Regions from separate parts of the Homo sapiens genome. Here region 2 is linked to region 1. Evidence: promoter capture Hi-C in human tissues and cell types (Jung and others, 2019). All regions are on one chromosome and are shown on one strand. The core of a region is centred on a gene start or on the middle of the fragment in contact, and the rest is flanking DNA. Distances in the headings are between cores, read along the strand shown.

Region 1 (6,970 bases), core at 2,250-4,749:
GTAAGAAGAAAACTTACTTAAATAGTTTAGAATACCAAAGGAACCAAAGTAACCAGCTATGTTAGCACCATTAAAAAAAAAAAAAAAGCATTAGCATACATACATTTAAAGGCATAAGCAAGAGCAAAGTCTCAAATAAATGTATTGATATAAGATACACATACATGTTCATTTAAGGCTTTCTGCACCAATGGCCAACACTCTTTCAAGTAAGCTTCCCTGTATTTTGGGAACAAAGTTGCGAAACTGCTCTCCTCCAAAAGTCCTCTGGGATTGTCCTCTTTGGAAAAAGCTGGTTCCTTCCAACCATCAGGAACCGTAAGGAGTTCTGATTCATCTACAGAAAGGAAAAAATTTACACATCACATTTTAACTGTCTTTTGGACATACACATCACATTTTAACTGTCTTTTGGACACTTTATGAACATCCTATGCACATATTCACAAACCTTCCAATACTCCTTGCATTTCCTTTTCCCCTGCTTTTTATATTATTCAAGAGTCAAAGAACGTTCCTCTGTCATTATCATCAATTCTCTGTATTAAAATTATCTGTACACATTTCAGTTGCCTCATATGACAAAGTTCCTTAAGAGCAGAAACCCTCTTCACACTAGTTGGCATATGCCAGGCAGATAGTGAGTACTCCAGAAACATGTACTGCACTACACTATCATAAAATTGAAGATTTGAATGCCATTTTGGTTAGTATTTTAAATACAATTAACCTTTCTGACTTTCCTGGAGTGTATGGAATCTGGATGTATGTGTTTGTGTAAAACTTCTGAAAGAGAATTCTAGTTTATCTTTCAGTTAATAATCACTGGTAATTCTAGATTTTCCTAAGCATTTTGAGTGCCTTATTTCCATACGCCTTTCATCGTAACTATAAAAGGTAGAATCTGTATTATTATTCTCATTTTATAGAAGATGGTCTAAAAAGGTTAAGTGACTTGCCTAAGGGAACACAAAGCTCACTCAGCCTGGGACTCCTTTCACTACAAGAAAATGCCTCCTAAGGGCCGTAAATTATCTTCTGAATCATTTATTTAAAAAACTCTTGATCTTGAATTTGAAGAACTCCTTAATTTCAATAGCTATACTCTAATTCAGTTATACTCAAAGGTATGATCCATAGACTTGCAGTATCAGCACAAACTGTAAGTCTGTCAGAAATGCAATTATTGGGCCCCACTACAGACCTACTGAATGAGAATCTCTTCGACGAGGGACAAGAATCTGTGTTTTACCATGCTCAACAGGAGACTCTTAAGCACGGTAAAGTTTGAAAAACACGTCATTACCCTATGTTAGCAGCCTCAGACAGGTAAACTTTCTGCTTATACTCACATCCACGTTGCTATTTCTGGTTCAAATCACAGACAATTGGCTAGTCTTCATATAAAGGATTCTCCAATGTCCTTTAAAGAACACGAATTCCACAAAAGTGATTACTTATATACTATACACATTTCTTTTTTTTTTTTTTTTTTTAAAGACAGGGCCTCGCTCTGTCACCCAGGCTGGAGTGCAATGGCTCCATCCCAGCTCACTGCAGCCTGGACCTCCTGGACTCAAGCGATCTATTCTCTTGCCTCAGCCTCACAAGTAGCTGGTACTACAGGCATGTGCCATCATGTCCGGCTAATTTTTTTTTTTTTTTTGTAGCGAAAGGGTTTTGCCATGTTGACCAGACTGGTCTCCTGGGCTCAAGCAATCCCCCCTCCTCAGCTTGCCAAAGTGCTGGGATTACAGGTGTGAGTCACTGCAACTAGTTACTTACAATGTTTACCTGACGAAGTCCCTATCCAATTTAAACACTTCAAAGGCTATGGATAATTTTTTTTAAAATCCCCACTACAACCTCAGGAAAAAAACTGACAAAAGAAATACTCAGGAGTTTCACAATTAAGGAAGCCTCAAAACATGTGAAAAGATATGCAACCTCATAGGTGATCAGAAAATGCAAACTAAAACTGCAACCAAATACCATTTCATAACTACCAAAATGACAGAAATTCAAAATTCAGATAACATGTATTCATACTAATGTAAGGCAATGACAACTTTCGTCCACTCCTAGTGGGAACAAAACTGACACTAGCACTTTGGAAAAAAGTTAGCATTACTTACACACACCCTACACTTCAGTGATTCCAATCCTATGTTCACAACCTAGAGAAACCCTTGAACATGTTAACCAGAAGACATGTACAAAGATGTTTTAGCAGTATTGTTTATAATTGCAAGCAATTGGGAACAATCCAAATGTCCACCGATAGTAAAATGAAAAAATAAATTGGGGTATATTCATACAAGGAAACACCACATAACAGTGAAAAGACTAAAACTACACCCGCAAGTATCACCCTGTTTGAAAAACAAAAAGCTAAATCTAAGAAGACACAGAAAAATGCATACGGTCCACTTTCATGTATATAAAATTAAAAAACAGGCTAAATTAAGCCACTTCATGACTACAAGAAGAGGAACAGAATGCAACACAATTCAGGGTGGTTACGTCTGATACAGGAAAAGAGAATATGATCTGAGAGGTGCACGTAAGGGTTTGAGGGGTATGGTAATGCTCTATTTTACTTAGTCTGAATGCTAGTTTCCCGCATGGTTTTATTAAACTCTATATAAGTTGTATCCCCTGCTATGTACGTTACATAATCATTTAATGAGCAACAACAAAGAAACTTTGAATACTTTCCCAATGCATCTAAATTGAGAGTTCAATGTTTTTAACACTTCCTATAAGCCTGGTTGAACAGATCCCCAGGCTATTTATGACTTCTCTATCATTCACACTGAAGAAAACGGGTAAAACCAGACTACAACGCAGGAGTTAACAATTAAAAGGTAACACAACCTAAACAGTAAGGGCTGTGTCGTCTAATATTTTAGCATCTGACAAACAGGAATTGATAATCTTTCAAAATGTCTTTACTGACAAACTAGAGCTAAGGACATGTCGGATAGCTCCTTTCCCCATACCTCACCCCATTATCAGGGTCCACTCTTGTATATCATGACTACCTATTCCCACCTCACCCTATTCCTCATTCCGTCAGTGACTTTCAGCCACCCGCAGGCTTACAAGGTTCTGCGTCGCCCTAGGCATTTTCTTAATACTCATCCTTTTACAAAAGACGTAATCCGCAACAGCTTCGCTTTGGGGACCCTTTAGCAAAAGCAATGAATTAGGAACACCTGGGTGGCACCATATCGGCCAGCCGTTCCTGTGGGCCCAGCCAAAATCTTATCAGCGATTATTCAGGTACTCAACTACACAGTACAGGCTCCAGGTGGTTTTATAAGTCCACGAGGAACGAAAGAAAAAAACATCGCAACTCAACGTACACAAACCCCAGGCTTCGGTTCCCACATAACATCACCTTGGTTCTCCGGCTTCGGCTTCTGGTTACGAAATTCACTTTTTCCAGCGCCTTTTTCTGGCCGCTCCAGCGAGGGAGACGCCATTTGCAAGCTGCTTCCGGTGGCTCCGGAAATGAAACTGTTCTTAAACCCTACCGGCTAAAACGCCTACACTCAAAATGAGTTCCGCGGAACTCAGACGAGGAGATCTGCGCAGTCTCCGTGCGTACGTGCGTTAAGCCCGCGCTTTTACACAAACCACAGCTTCTCCTACGTGGCCAATGAAGAGCCGGAGACTTTCTCCCAGTATGCCCTGAAACCATGGAGTTTGCGTACTGGGACTTGTAGTTTAGCAGGCGGTATAGGCAAATTGGATACTGTTTTATCCGTAGTTTCCTCGTGGCCTCACGGCCTAACCTGGACCATCGGACAGCGGAGTGCTACCAACCTGTCATTGATGTCATTCATTCTTTCGATAAATATTTATATGTTGGCCAAATATGCGCTAGATGTTGGGAGGAAGTACAAATATGAGAATACAATGTATATTGGGCCTCCACTGCAACAAGTGACAGGAATAGCTACTATTTATTGTGAGACTACTTTGTTTCAGTACTTTATTTACATTATTTCTAATTTTAAAAACAGTGACAAAATTAAACTTTTCAAAGTTGTTTCTGATGGTAATCTTCCCGAGTGTTGGTATTTCTCTAAGTCAGAGGGATGGTAATTCAACATCCTGACGTTTCTGAAGTATTTCAACTAGCCTAAGATTTCTCAAAATCTCTAAACTCCTTTTCTACCCCCAACATTACATAGGGCTAAGATGTGTAGAGAGGTTCATCACTAACTACAAATAACTACACTTTTGGAAGTATAAGAGTTCTTCGACATGCCAAATATAAGATTTTTTTAAATTTTGATTTTATTGCTTGCATTTCTAAAATTTTCTGCAGCAAATAGGGAAAGTCTTTGATAGGTTAAATTCCTTGCATTAGTGAAATACACGTTTGTCTGATAAATCCACTCTCGTGTATCTTATACAATAATTTAGGTTTTCATATATGAGATCCAGGTATGAAACAGATTGTTACATATGGACAGAAGAACCCACGACAGAGGGGTTTTTTGTTTTTATCCTGTGAGTTTTATAAATGACAGGGATTTTATCTCTGTTCTTTTAATTTCCTCAAAAAATGATAAATTCCTAAAATAGAACAGATAGCAGCAGGTGAAAGTTATAAAGTGAGGAGTACACCTCATGAAGCAGGTTTTTATCATTCTTATTTTAAGTAACTCAATCACTAATAAGTGGAAGGCCCGTCTTCAAGTTCAGGCAGTTTGACCTAGCAGCTTCAGGGGGCTACTATTCATTAGGAGCTTCAAATGTGTTAGAGGGCTGATAGGGATTAAGGGGAGGGAATAGTCTAGAAATAATATTTGTGTTAAAGCCCTTTATTTTATAGCAAAATTTTCTACATAGGCTTTTCTTCCCATTTACGTGTATATTTTTAATCTTAGTATTGCTATTATTTGAGGAATATTGAGAATATGATGGAGATGGGAAAACGAAAACCCACCCATCCTTTTCTTGGCACTATTGAGTCTGTTTGTAAAACCCAACCTTTTAATTACCATACTATGCAGAGCCCACAGTTCACCTGTCCCTTTTTGAAATTTTTACATCTTTTTCCAAATCATTACTGAAAGGGGTGTAAAAACATGGATAATAATTGAGTTCTAAGATTCTCTAACGTCCTCAAGACCTCCTATTATAGATGACACCACACTAAAACTGTCTGCTTTCCAAAGGAAAAGATTCATCAGGCTCCTACAATAAGTTATTTCAGTATTAAGTGATTCTTTCCCTTCCCTAACTCAAAAGCCCTCATGTTGTCCACCAACTGAATATACAATATAAAAACAATATATGATTGGAAGTTAAGTGAATTTTTTTAAGTCTGTTACTTGCCTTCCAGAACCCATAATCTAACACAAGTTATATCACAGGAATAGGGAGTTATCTTACATATAGGATATAAAAGCTTTTACTAAAAAATGAATCCTGCAACAAAAATCACAAATTAATTTAAAAATATTAATTATAATGACTATTAATCATATACTGAAGGGTATATATAATTATACAGTACTTTTTCCTCTGTGATAATATGAGATAAAATATAGCAAGATACTAATTTGATGCTAGTAGTTATAAGAAGTAATGTATAAAAATTAAATGAATAGAAAATTGCATGAGACTGAGAGGCTGAAGCTTTTCCTTAGTACACATACATTTTTTTTTCAGTTTTAAAACAGACTCTGATGCTTAAATATTGTTACTCATTAACTGAATTTTCATATTTTGGCTTGACAAGCAGGAATAGCACATATATATATACTTACTAAAAATTAAAATTGACAGTCAAATTGAATGAGAACAACGTTTCAACAATTTGCTTAGACTATGTTTTAAGCAATTTTGAAGAAAAATTTTAAAATAAACGTGGTATGGAATAAACAAATTCCGAAATTAATTCGACTAGTTCTTCTAAGAATTAAACATTGTAACCAATATTACATATGAGTAGTTTAAACTTTTAAAACCTCTTAACAATAGTTTCCACATGTGGGAACTATTTGCTCTAGATTCCTTACTTTGGAAAAGAGCAGATCTAATTTCAACATCTTCCAAAAATTCATTAGAATTGAAAGAACAATTTGATTTTAAATAAATATTGAATAATGACTAAAAATTATAAATATTTATTGAATACATATTGAAAATAAATATTGAAAAATCTCCTAAAATCACCTTAGAAGACTATAAACTCAAAAGTGATTATCAAAATGACAGTGTCCAAATTTTCATCTCAATTTCAATGATTCACTGATTATAAAGTATTCAAAATAATAATTTAAAATTTAAAATGATGAGAAATAGGGTAAAAAAATAAAGGATATAAAAGAGGGCAAAATATTCGCAAAACATTTAATGGGTTGATTACAATAATATTCAAGGCGATAAAAAGATGTAAGCAATTCAATCAAAAAATGAGGAAAGCCCGAGGGCAGTGGCTTACGCCTGTAATCCCAGCACTTTGGGAGGCCGAGGCGGGCGGATCACGAGTTCAGGAGATTGAGGCCATTCTGGCTAACACGGTGAAACCCCGTCTCTATTAAAAATTCAAAAAATTAGCGGGGCATGGTGGCACGCACCTGTAGTCCCAGCTACTAGGGAGGCTGAGGCAGGAGAATCGCTTGAATCCAAGAAGCAGATGTTGCAGTGAGCCGAGATCATGCCACTGCACTCCAGCCTGGGTGACAGAGCAAGACTCCATCTCAAAAAAAGAAAAGAAAAACGGAAAATATATTAGTAGATATTTGTGATGGTTAATTTTAAGTGTTAACTTGACTGGGTAATATTGTCCCGATATTTGGGCCTACATTATTATGGATGTTTCTGTGAGAGTACTTTTAGATGAGATTAACATTTAAATCAGTGAACTTTGAGTAAGGTAGATTGTCCTCTATATACTGTGGGTGGTCCTCATCCAATCAGTTGAAGACCTGAATAGAACAAAAAC
Region 2 (6,970 bases), core at 4,471-6,970, 370 kb after region 1:
TAAAGAATAAATACTTATCTAGGTGTCCTTTTTCTACTGTCTATTTTTGCCTTAATTTTTCTACTTTGTGAGCTGGTTTGGCCAACAAATTGAACAATTCAATTCTATGCTGAGTCTTTAGATTTAATACAATTCTTGATCTATCGACATTTGCCAAAACAAAATGGTCCCATGCCTCACAACTAGGATAAAATATAAAATGAGGTTTCCCACCAAAGAGAAATAGCCCAAATACTCCAGTGTTTAAATAATTTTGAATGCTTTAAGGGGGGACTTTAGAATTCTGATAATCTTATGTACAACCACAAATAACACAATTAGATTTCTTTTCAAATGTTACAGAAATTCGTAAGAGGTGGCACTAAAGTTATTTAAAATCTACTACCCATCATGGAAGTTAAATTTTTTAAATGTGCACCGTGTAGCATTCAGTACCATAGTACAATCCTCCTTCTAGGAAATCATGTGGTGAAAGAAAAATCACCTAAAAAGCAGACAGTTCATGGACACCAGTTTGGCTACATCAAGCCATGAGTCTGTGGCTCCTGGAATCAATGAAAGAACATCCTGTGGGGTTCATTTCCATCTGAAACCAATAGTGATAGTTGTTAGTGCTGTCTGCCAAATATTTCTGGTTCTCCCTATTTCCAGGCACAGGACAGGATTGCCTTTTCTGGCCCCCTTATGGTTGTGTGGAACCACATGACTAGTTACAGCCAGTGACTTGTGAGCCAAAGGGAAATAAACTCCTTCTTATTTACTTGATAATTCAAGACTTTTAAGAGCTCTCTCCTTCCTCCAGCACAGTGACCAGAAGTAAGCTTTTGTTTGTTTGTTTGTTTGTTTGAGACAGGGTCTTGCTCTGTTACCCAAGCTGGAGTGCAGTGATGCAATCAGAGCTCACTGCAGCCTCAACCTCCTGGGCTCAAGTGATCCTCCTGCCTCAGCCTCTCGAGTAGTTGGGATCACAGGCATGTGCCACCAAGTCTGGCTAATTTTTTTTATTTTTTGTAGAGATGAAATCTTGCTGTGTTGCCCAGGCTAGTGTCTAATTCCTGAGCTCATGCAATCCTCCCATCTCAGCCTCCCAAACACTGGGATTAAAGGCATGACCAACTGCTCAGTATTAACGATGGATAATGCTCTATCTGTCTGGGTCCCAGAGTGAGTCTAGCTCCCAGGTATGGACACATCATGAACAGATAGCACAAGAGAATTAAGCCTATGTTGCTTTAGGCTGCTGAGATCTGGGGATAGTTTGTTACTGCAGCACTGCTTAGTTTATCTTGACTGATACAATGCTTCGTAAGTTTGGATCTTCTTGGTGCAGGGGTAATGTACACAAGAATAGACGACCATAACAGACTCCAAGAACTGACCTGATCTTCACTGGGAATTCCCCAAATCAAGGATTATGCTAGATCTCTCAGGCTGAAGACCCTAGCTCCTCTATCCCACATCCCTAAGCAGTTCTCTAAAGCCAAAAGGAAATTCAGGGTCTGTAGGCTTTCAAACTATTGTCCCCCCAACTAAATTGCTTCCGTGAGATAGGTTATTCCCTGCCTTCTTTCCCCAAAATGTTTTGGACATTCGATCCAACTGCCAAAATAAAATAACAAATCATGAGCAATACACTGAGGGAATTAGAGTAAAAGTTGTTTGTAGCTTCCATAGGATAGAAAGTTTGACAGGTTCATTCCCTTTTCAGTACTAAAGGCTGACATAGCACATAACCATCTTGGTATAGGACAGTTTTCCTCACAAAGCATTTATTTCAGGCTCTTCAATTATTAAAAATTACTTCTATAAAAAGTAAATATTTTAAGAAGAAATATTTCTTCAAGTCAGTGCTCATATTTTGATGGGAAGGGGAATTTCTTTCATTTTTTTGTTTATATTCACTGTTCATTTATCACAGCACTGGGCTGTCATGATAACAGCTTCTAAAAACAAGACTCCTTGACATTTTACCACAACCTTGGAAGACTGGGGATTTTTATCCACTTTTCACTCAGATGTATGATTTTATGTAATGTCAAAGAATTTTGAGTGCATTTTTTCAGAAAAAAAACTCTGCTAACCAGACTTATGATCAAACTAGAAACATTTTGACAGAGACCACCATTAGCAGAAAGTTATATGAAAAATAAAATGAAATGAGAAATGATGAAATACTGTTTTCTTTCTTTCTCTTTCTTTTTTTTAAAGCTGAGAGAGTCCATGGAAACAATAGCTTAGTAAACCTCTTACCCTCAACAACCGCGAGCTTCAGAAAATATTCTCTGAACTTAGCATTTGGAATAAGGCTTTATACTTAGCTCTTTGTTTTCTCCATCTCCTCTGATGGTAGTGATACGTTTTTTAAATGCCTAAAACCTTTCCTTGTACCTAAGAATTCCCTAGGTTTCATGAATTATTGCAAATGGGTAATCACAAGTGCAAATGAGGAATTTGTAACACAAGTACCCATCTGTGCATGCAATTAACTGCCTCCAGCAAGTAATTGCCTGTTTTTACAAAAGCCTACTTAGAAACCTCAACTTAAGAATGTATTTTTTTTAATAATTCTGCCATAACACACAGCAGAACTTTTTCTTGGGACCAACACTTTCAAACAAGCTGCCAAATAATCTATAATTTTTAATCTTATAAAGATTATACCTAAGCAGCCAATCCCACTGTAACTGATTCCAGAGGAGCCTGACACTTCTAGACATACTCAGGGAATTTTTCAATCAGTACCAGCCTTTTGTCCAAGAGACCCCAGCATGGCTAATCCTCATGGGAACTACTCCTGTTGAGGCACCTTTGGGAGATATCTGAAGCTTTTAGTATTGTTTTCATCAATTCATTCAAGAAATATCTGTTGAACACCTATGAAATACAAAGCCTTCTGTTCTAAGCTCCATGCAAAATATAAAAATGAATTTTAACATTGAATCTTCTCTTAAAGAACTTACAATCAGAAATAGAAGACTTAAAGCTAATTATTCAAAATCCAAGTACCTTTGTAATTCAATATTGTGAAGGTGTACCTGTTACCTTACTAGGCCACACCTACCTAGCAAAACAGTCATGTGTTTTGGGTAAAAATCATGCTTGCAGCAGGATCTGAGCCTCCGTTAAGTTGTGTCACTGATCCCCTACTCCCCTGAAATTGGCCTGCTTGCCTTCCCTTTGCAAGGTCCCCCAGTCTCCTTGATAGTCATAAACATTTTTCATTAGCTGCTATTGACTTTGCTCTCCTCCATCTGCTGCCAAAAGTCTTAATCCATGGCTATTTTTGATCTTGTGCCAAGCTGCTACTTCCTTGTTATTACCAAATACCCTATCGTTCCTCTCACCACTGTTGCCTTACCTTTAAATATCACCTACATACTGAAAACTCCCAAATTAAACTTCCCCTGATGCCCAGACTCATCTACCTGCTTGGTCAACGTCTCCACTTAGGTATCTGATTATCATGTCAGACTTGTTTCCTAAAACTGAACCAAACCTGCTCCTCCAATGATTTCCCCATCTCAGTGATGGACAGTTCCACACTTTAAAGTTACGATCATCCTTGCCTTCTCTCTTTCTCTCACACTAGACCTCCAATCTGTCAGCATATCTTTTTGAATCCACCATCAGAGGGGTCAGATTCCCACCACTTCTCACATCTCCACTGTTAACCACCCTGATCCAAGCTGCCATCTCCTCTTGCCTGGATTATTGTAATTGTCTCCCAATGGGGGCCCCTGCTTCTACCTTAGCCCTGCTAGAGTTATTCTCCCACTCAGTCATCAGATGGCCCTTTTAAACATCAGTATTTCACTCTTATGATCAGGGCTTTCCGTCTCACTTAGTCAAAGCAGAATTTCCTATAAGAATCAGCAGAATTTCCTATAAGAATCTACAAGATCCTTCATTGACTGCCCTACAACCCATCTTTCTTTTATCATCTTCCACACCACCACCACCCCCAGTCATTAGGATTCAGCAAAACTGGCTTCCATGTTCCTCCTTGCACACACTAGGCATGGACCTCTTCTCACATGTTGAGATCCTCTTCCCCAGGTGTCTGTGACTCATTCCCACCCTTCTTTCAGGTCCTCTTATCCTAGGGGTCTTCCCTGAGCTCTACAATAATTCCTGCCCCCTGCTCACTACCACTCTTCCAGTCCTGGACCCACTTTATTTTTGTCTGTAACCCTTCTTGCTGTATGATATATGCTTATTTTCTGCCTCCCTTATTAGAATACAAGTTTCACAAGGGCTGAAGTTTTGTTCTGCTAAGTTTTCTAGCATCTCAAATAATGCCTGCCACATAGCATTATGTGTGTATGAATGAATAAAAATGAACTAATGAACATTCCTAAGGTGAAAGAGGCTCCTCTCCCCATCAGAATTAAAATCCTTATTTGGCTTACAAAATAATGTCCTTGCCCTCTTTATTCTTATCTTTCTCATGCAGAAAAAACTGGAAGAATGTCTCAGATTGCCACAACTTGAAGAGTTACTCTCAAAGACAATAAACTAGCATCCTAGAATGCGGTCTGGGTTCCTCTAATCTCTAACCTCAGGTTGAATTCTTTGCCTTAAAGGATAATCCCCAAGAAGCTGAGGGAGCTCGTTGTTTGAGTCTTACCTTCACCGTTCTGGTGCTCAGGTTTCAGTCACCTTCCTCTTCCTGCGCTCTCCTAGGCCACCTGTCAGTTCTTCATGATAATAAGATCCCTAGTCAGCTCAAATCTCCTGCCTTAGGACTACCTTTGAAAACACATTATACACACAAGAAGAAAGGATGGAAAAAGTAAACTTTTTCACTTAACCTTATACTTACCCCTTAAATTCAAAAAGCAATAGCGTTGATTAACACTAAGCTCAAATTTTCAGATACTCAACTTTCTCACTAGGAAACTGAAGCACTATCTTCCTCAGTAGGTAATTATAAGTTGCTAAGGAGATGTGACAAAGTGATTGAAGGAAACCAAAAGGGATACAATCTTCAGAATCCAACCACTTTTAAAAAAGAGTAAAAATGAAAAGAAACTCTCCCAAATGCCAAGAGAAATATAAAAACAAATTATATATGAATTGATGTGCTAAAAAGACTGTGCTCTGCTAAAATTGGGGTACTATTTTTAAAGATTTAGTTTGATTTATTCCATTATGTCTAAGGTAAAAAAAAAAAAAAAGTTTGAACCATTATCAAAGCTCAGCAAATCAATTTCAGTATGTGCCTTTCAAAAATTTCTCTTACATCTAAGTTAATAAGCTTACTTTTTAAAATTATGGTTCAAAAACTTAATTGGATAAAGATATTATTGTATATTTTCCATTTATGTACCAATAATGTAGCTTTCCCTATTTTTAAGATACAGCAAGTTACAGAACATAATTCTGTTGTTCAACAACAATAAGATTTGAGGAAGAAGAGAAAGAAAACAAGAACGAATTACTAAAATAGAGAAAATTCTATGGCAAAAAAGTTTCCTTTCTATAGTTTAAATACTGGCCCTTCTGCATGAAATAACAAAATAGTTTTTATTTTTCTGAGTTGGAGTCTTGATCTTGTTGCCCAGGATAGAGTCCAGTGGTGCAATCTCAGCTCACTGCAACCTCTGCCTCCCGGGTTCAAGCGATTCTCCTGCCTCAGCCTCCCAAGTAGCTGGGATTACAGGTGCCCGCCACCACACCTGACTAATTTTTGTATTTTTAGTAGAGATGGGGTTTCACCATGCTGGTCAGGCTGGTCTCAAACTCCTGACCTTATGATCCACCCACCTTCGCCTCCCAAAGTGCTGGGATTAGAGGCGTGAGCCACTGCGCCCAGCCCAAAATTTTTCTTATTATAAAACTTTCTCACAAAGGCAAAATCAAGCTACGTATGAAGAAGAAGGGGTAGGAAACAATAGGAGGCCCTTTTACAATAAATAGCCCTATGGTTTTTGCTTTCTTACTGGATAAGAAAGCAATAAAAGCATTCTTTACTGCAAAAAAAAAAAAAGTTTATGCTTTACTGCAATAAAAGCACAATTACATGGATGGGGTGCTCTGGGGGCCTGCAGAGCATTTAATCACAGATTTTCCCCCTCAGGTTCTGATTCTACAAAAAGGACATTAAATAAAGTGCCACATGTTCACATTTTCAGTTTAATTACCTCTTTAAAATGCTAAGATTTTTGAGCCACATGGGACTCATGTAGATTTTCAATTACATAGGAATCAATATTTTAAATCATTACATTCTCATTACACCTTCCTGCAGTTCATGCATTACCCTATCTATATTTAATATTATGCGTTTAAATAACTTGCCTAAGCCCATTTAACAAGTTAGTAAAAGAACAAAAATGAGACTTGCCGCAGCAATTCTGCATACTAGCTGAGTGACCTTGGGTTGGAATCCAAACCCCTGTGGGTCCCTATAAAAGAAGAAAGTTAGACCAGAAGATCACAGCATCTTTTCTTGCCTAATAGCCAATGATTTCCTATTCTTGATTTTACACTCAAACCTCTTATCTGTAATGTGTTTGAAGGTAAGACTCTCAAAATTCAGCATTATTGTCTCTCTCCGAGGACATCCTGAAGATAAGCCCTTCAAGCTCTTCGTCAACCAAAACCCTCATTTATATGAGTGCTTATTCCTTTTATAATTTCTTGAAAGAAGTTTTTTGACATCAGTGAAAATGAACACCCTCTCTGTTCACTATATCCAATAACCCATAGTATAACACTACCATCCTCAGACCTTTCCAAGTCTTCCTCTTTCACCTCTCAGCTCTCATTGAGCTAAACAATTTTGATTCTTCTTGATTTTTCTCCATAATTTGTTTTCCTACACCTTTGTCATTTTCTTCAGCCTTTGAATTATCCATCTTTAAGTAATATAATATGGAAACCTAATTTATTGTTTGAGTAGAAAATGTCCTTGTTCTCCCAATATGTTAGGAATTACTTTTTCACTCCAATGCAGGGAAATGTGGTG

What was found. The method cuts DNA at HindIII sites, captures the fragments that hold promoters and counts their contacts. A contact is called where the count stands out against the background at its distance.
Region 2: a fragment that was not itself captured here is called in contact with the fragment with the promoter of KRR1 in region 1 in 2 of the 25 tissues and cell types used here (heart left ventricle and mesendoderm cells).

Annotation. Positions count from the first base shown.
Region 1 is chr12:75,508,110-75,515,079 of GRCh38, forward strand. KRR1 (KRR1 small subunit processome component) reads right to left here and starts at 3,500. Exons shown (of 10, transcript NM_007043.7): 1 at 3,404-3,500; 2 at 165-337. The coding sequence starts at 3,488. RefSeq lists enhancers at 2,713-3,257, 3,258-3,801, 3,308-3,467. The HindIII fragment of the contact is 10,159 bases long and covers 1-6,970 here.
Region 2 is chr12:75,880,169-75,887,138 of GRCh38, forward strand. No RefSeq gene overlaps it. Among named protein-coding and RNA genes, the nearest start is that of PHLDA1-AS1, 150 kb to the right of the region's middle. The HindIII fragment of the contact is 7,794 bases long and covers 1,824-6,970 here.